2 separate regions of the Homo sapiens genome follow, and region 1 is linked to region 2. The links are contacts of gene promoters, found by promoter capture Hi-C in human tissues and cell types (Jung and others, 2019). All regions are on one chromosome and are shown on one strand. Each heading gives the region's core, a stretch centred on a gene start or on the middle of the fragment in contact. The rest is flanking DNA. Distances are from core to core; before and after follow the strand shown.

Region 1 (2,700 bases), core at 59-2,558, 1.2 Mb after region 2:
AGAAGGAGGCAGCAGGAGGAAACTGAAGTGCAGACATTAAAAGAAATTCTGTCTGTGCTGAAGGCTTCTTTGAAGCTTTGACAAGGAGAAATACTTGCTCTTTGCTCCTTGCCTGCTCTTTGACAAGCAGCCTTGAAGCAGTTTTGTAACCTTAAGAGGAGCCTGTGACTACCAGAGAGTGGAAAGCAGTGGTTTCTGAGAAGTGGCCAAGGGAGAAGAGAAAAGCCCAAAGGCACATACACATGTGTGCACACACACACAGGCACACTGGCACACACACACACACACACACAGAGCTCAGCAGGCTGCCTGTGATCTGTGCTTCAACACACTGGCACTACAAAAACTCAAACCTGAATCTGCTCAAGCCTCCCGATTCAAGTTCTAGGTTACAGGAAATACGGGGGACAGAGGAACATGCTAAACAGGGCCCCAGGGATACAAACAGCAAATGTGAGGTATGGAAACCATAGAAGAGATGACCACATTGTGTAAACAATTACATTGTAAGGAAAGAAAGAGAGAGAAAAACTACAGTTCAAATGAAATTGCATGCAATGTGTGGATTTTATTTGGATCCTGAGTTGAACAAACCAACTGGTAAAAAAAAAAAAAGAAAAGAAAAGAAAATTGAGGCAATTGATCATTGAACACTGACTGGAATTACTGTTGATGTGTTTAGGTGTGATAATGAGATTGTGACTAGGTTTTTTTTTTAAAGAGTCATTATCCTTTAGAGCTGCCTGCTGAAATACTTACGGATGAAATGAGATGATGTCAGAGATTTACTATGAAATACTCCAGTAGTGGGAGAGTGGAGAGGGTATGGACAGAATGAAATTGGCCCTAAGTTGGCAAATGTTGAAGATGGATGTTGGGATCATGGTACTTTGTTGTTCTCTCCACTTTTGTACATGTTTGGAATTTTCCATGATGAACAGAAGTTTAAAAAAAAAAAAAAAACTCTACCGAGGGGACTCCCAGCTCCACCACTGACCGGCTGGGGCCCTCCCAACCATTCCTGGCTTCCCTGAGCCTCAGTGTCCCCACGGGTAGGGGCTCCTGCCTGCAGGGAGTAGTGTCTAGCAAGAACTCCATCCCTGTTCATTATTTCTGCTATTTGTTTATGAGTGTTTACTCTCTGTTTCTCTTGGGACAGTCTCAAAGGAGCATCAAATTAATTGATTATCCTCCAACAGGGCGCAGGTATTTTTTGCTTCTTCCAAGAAGCTTGCTTGATACCCAACTCGGCTGAAGTGGGCGTCTCCCCAGGATCATCCTGACACTCTGCAGGGGCATCCCCCATTAGACTGAGCTGTCCTCGGCACCTAGCATGCCGTAAGCACTCAGTAAGTACTATTTGACCAACCAAATGAATGAACTCTGCATCCCTGGCTTTTCAGGGTCCCACTTTGCTGAAAGAAGTCCAAAAGATACGATGCAGAAATCTGCCTTCTCAGCATTACTCTGTCTCTGCTTTGCTGTGTGGTCCTGAGCAAGAATCTCAACCTCTCTGAGCCTCTTAAGTCACTCTTCCTGATGGCCATGCTGTGACAGGAAATGGATGGAAATCTGACCATTGCCCATTGCCTCCCAGTTTCAGGTGAACCTGCCTTTGTAACACAACATTGCTTGGGGGTGAGGCCTGTACTGAAGGGAACTGCCCAAATGGCCAGCCCGAAGCAGCTCCCATGGCCTCAGCTTGAAAGGCACCACCACATCCAACCCACCCACCTCCCCTCTCTGCTAGATTCCCTCGTGGTCCACAGAGACTCTGCACAAAGTCCTCGGGCTCTCAACGACTTTCATCAATGAGACTCTCATTGTGATAAAAATCACTCACCGATGACATTTAAGAACAAATAGGTTAACATTTCAGACAAGCCCATAACACAACAAACCCCATGAGGGATCCTTTTCAGACAGGGGAATTGGCTGCTAGAAACCACCAAGTAAGCGACGTCTTCTGACTGCCAGAATTGCAGCTTTAACAGCTGGGAGAAGAAAACACAGCCTGCCAATGTGATTTTACCAATGGTCCAGCATGCCTATAACCCATGTAAGTATGGCTGAAAACCCACACAAGAACTTCGGGCAGCTCCATACCCAGGTGAGCAATATTCAGAGATTCTGGCGGTGACAATCACATGAACTGCAACTTATGCAGATTATGACACCTGCACCTGCAGCTGTGGAGACCTTCATGGATCCTGTGGGGCACACAGGCCCCCAGCAGCTCTGGGTCCTCGGCCCAGGACACAGAGGAAAGGCCCAGCCCAAGGCTGTGGCTGAACAGTGTCTGGACAGAAGAGCACAGCTGTTTGGGGGGATCTGATGGCCGGTCCCCCTGGATCCTCCAGAGAGCTTGGCAGGCGATACCACAGCTAAAGGCCAGAATGGAATAAGGAAAACATTTCCCCTCCGTTCCTTGGCCTAGAACAGCCTAGAGGAAAGGGCTTTGGGGGCCAGGAGCAGAGCCAGCTTCCTGGGTTGGTTTCCTAGTTCTAGAACACTGGCAGCCCAGGTGGCTACTGGGCCAAACCCTTGTTTAATGTGGCTCCTCTGTGCCTGTCTGAATGCTTCCCCAAGCTTCCAAGACCAGCTCATTGCCCTCTCCTTCCTCTTCCTCTCCTCCCTCCACACCCAGCATCCCCAGCCTCCCAGCTCTGCTCTGATCCCATTTTGCACACCAGCTGAGCC
Region 2 (2,700 bases), core at 28-2,527:
CTGGGAAGAATCTGGAAACACATCTCCACGGGTAACAGAATCAGATACAGAATCACAAAAGGTGACTGCTACAACAGATTTCAGTAATTAACAGCAAAGAAACAAGAGTAGTTCATTTTGGCTGGCGTGTAAGTACTAAGGAAGCAGAAATTAAGTCGAGAAGGTAGGTTTGCATCTGTATTGTTGACTGGCTGGATATTAACCATTTTCAATTTTACCTGAAAGTTCTGGTCTTTTTGCTGCAGCTTTAAGCATCCAACCCGGTATTACCAAGATGACTTAGAGTTCTTGACTCAAGCATACAGAAGAAACTACAAGATAATGTATGATAACTTTGTAAAGGGCCATATAAAAGCAATACAGTATTTTCAAAAATCTTCAACACGTTGTTTAAGAAACTGTAGACCTGCAGGAATCCCACCACCAGAACCGCAGTCAAAGCTTACAAAGACTCAAAGGAGAGACGCGGAAAGGGGGGAAAAATCAGAATGGGAAGGCAGGTGGCAGGGGAAAAAGATTGAGGTCCTGCCCTGGTGGTAGGGGCTCATCTTTTCCTTTTATAGGTGAAGGTGGAAAATGATTTTCTGAAGTTCCCGAATTCTCCTCCCTCCAAAGGCCAAGGAGTGAAAGTACTTAATAGGAACTTGCGGAGGCGTGGTCAAGAGCTCCGTTTTGCCGGAGTTAGGAGCTCCGCCCCGAGGTCCCCGCCCATTCCCCGCTGGGGTCCTCCCGGCCGGGCTGCCTCTGGCTGGGTTAGGGCGGCCTGTAGAGCGGCCTCACCCCACAGGGAGCCTCACGGGGGCGGGCCGCCGCCAGGCCAGCCCGGAAAAAAACCGCCTTCCAACGGAAGCGGCCCTGAGCCCCGCTCGCCATTTCAGCGCTCTGTCCCACAGGGACCGTCCGGCCCGGGTCCGGCCCACTGGTTGGGGTCCACGGACTCACCTCACTTTGCAACTAAGGTCAAAAATAAGCATTCCCTGGGGCACGGGCGGCCAGGCTATTAACACCCTTCCGCCATGACCCAATTCGGAAGTGCCAAATGCAACTTCCGGGCAGGAGAGGGAATTTCGGAGCCCTAAACTGTTGTCCATCTCCGTAAGTGACCAGACGTCTCAGTAAAATAAGGGCCAGGAAACTGGACGTGTAATCCGGAGTATGAATTAACTTGTCTAACATGGGATGTGTGGTCACCCACGGTACCTCTTTGGGCTTACTTACAGATGCATCCCTTCCCAGACGGCTCAGCTGTTGCCCCGGGTAACGGTGAGACTGGCGAAGGAAAAAAATCTACGTCACCCTGGAAACAGGAAGCCAGGAATCTCCTTTTGCCATTATCAGTTATGGCCGCCTTAGCTTCAACAGTAACTTCCGATCGGGGAGTTGTCACTCTACCCTGCTGGAGGCTTACTCTGTAGCCCGGCTAGCCAGAGGCGCCCAGTGGGCGGGAGACGGCGTAGAGGAACTGAGGAAAGGACAAGGGCGGAGAGAGAGAAGCTGGCGGCACTGCCCGTCTCTGATTGGGCAGCTTCTCTTGCCCCGGTTCCGCCCATTTTTCTTGCCTAGCGAGTGACGGGCCCACGGCAGAGGGGTGGGGCGGGGAGGCTGGAGCGAGAGTAGTGGCGGGGCGGGCGGGGCGGGGCGAGTGGGGGAGGGGCGGGCGGGGGGCGGCGGTTGGGCAGCGTCGCTTCTTAGGAGGAGGAGGAAGAGGAGGAAGGAGGGCGAGCGAGGAGGATGGCGGAGTCGGGGCTCCTGACGGTAACTCGGGGCCGATGAGGCGGAGGGTGTCTGTTGGTCGGTTCTTCCTGCCTGCCTTCCTGTCCGTCGGGCAGTCGGGCTGGCTGTCGGTAGGGGGAGGCCCCGTGCGCCCTGACAGGCGCGAGCCGGCAGCGCCGGGGCGAGGCCCGAGGGGCCGGGGCCCTGGGAGGCGCCGCCGCCGCCGCTTTCCTGGTTGCTGTCTCCGGGAGTGCGGGGCCCTTGGAGCCGGCTCGCGTGGGAGCCTGCAGCCCGGCGCGGAGAGGAAGGCGGTCGGGTGTGACAGCGGCCGGGGCCGGGCCTGCGGCGGCGGCGGCGGGCGGCCCGGACAGCGCCTGGGCGACGGCGAGCCGGCGCGAGGGCGCGGGCCGGGGGCCCCCGGCGGACAGTCTCTCTCCTCTCGGCTCCCTGGGCCCCCGGGCCCAGTCCGCAGGGCGCCCCGAGTCGTGTAAATCGTTGGCGAGGGCCCGGGCGCAGCGGCGGTCATACAGGGTGGGGTCTCTTCTCGCCCCCTCCCTGGAGTCCACCTTGCTCTCCCGTTCTCCTCTCCCTAAAAACCCTTGAGTGAAGAGTGCTGGATCGGCTCTGGGTGTGTTGCCTAGCGAAGCGAGTTGTAGCCCTTCGAGACCGCCTCGTAGAACATGCCCGATGGCAACCTCTCCCCGTGATAGCACAGCTTTTAGGGAGAGAGGAAAAGTAGTCTCACTCTTCCCCGACTTCCCCAGGCTCATAACACAAGAGGCTTTGGGGCAAGACGATTTTTCCCCCAGCACCTCAATATCCATTGTTTTTGTACCATCCCCCTCCCCCCATGCCTAGGTGGAAGAGTAATGACTCCAAAGCATTAACTTGCCTTTCTCTTTATTTCTTTTCTTTCTTTTTCTTTTCTTCCTTCCTTTCTTTAAGCAGGCAGTTTGTGTTATTGTGGAATTATGGATTTACAAACAG

The links. The method cuts DNA at HindIII sites, captures the fragments that hold promoters and counts their contacts. A contact is called where the count stands out against the background at its distance.
Region 1: a contact is called between a fragment that was not itself captured here and the fragment with the promoter of BBIP1 in region 2, in 1 of the 25 tissues and cell types used here (dorsolateral prefrontal cortex).

The regions. Positions count from the first base shown.
Region 1 is chr10:112,134,317-112,137,016 of GRCh38, forward strand. No RefSeq gene overlaps it. Among named protein-coding and RNA genes, the nearest start is that of GPAM, 48 kb to the right of the region's middle. The HindIII fragment of the contact is 3,996 bases long and covers 1-2,700 here.
Region 2 is chr10:110,917,903-110,920,602 of GRCh38, forward strand. BBIP1 (BBSome interacting protein 1) reads right to left here and starts at 1,278. Exons shown (of 4, transcript NM_001195305.3): 1 at 1,219-1,278; 2 at 219-311. The coding sequence starts at 255. SHOC2 (SHOC2 leucine rich repeat scaffold protein) reads left to right here and starts at 1,702. Exons shown (of 9, transcript NM_007373.4): 1 at 1,702-1,755. RefSeq lists silencers at 612-771, 1,622-2,061, 2,072-2,161 and enhancers at 903-1,442, 1,132-1,331, 1,352-1,401. The HindIII fragment of the contact is 6,231 bases long and covers 1-2,700 here.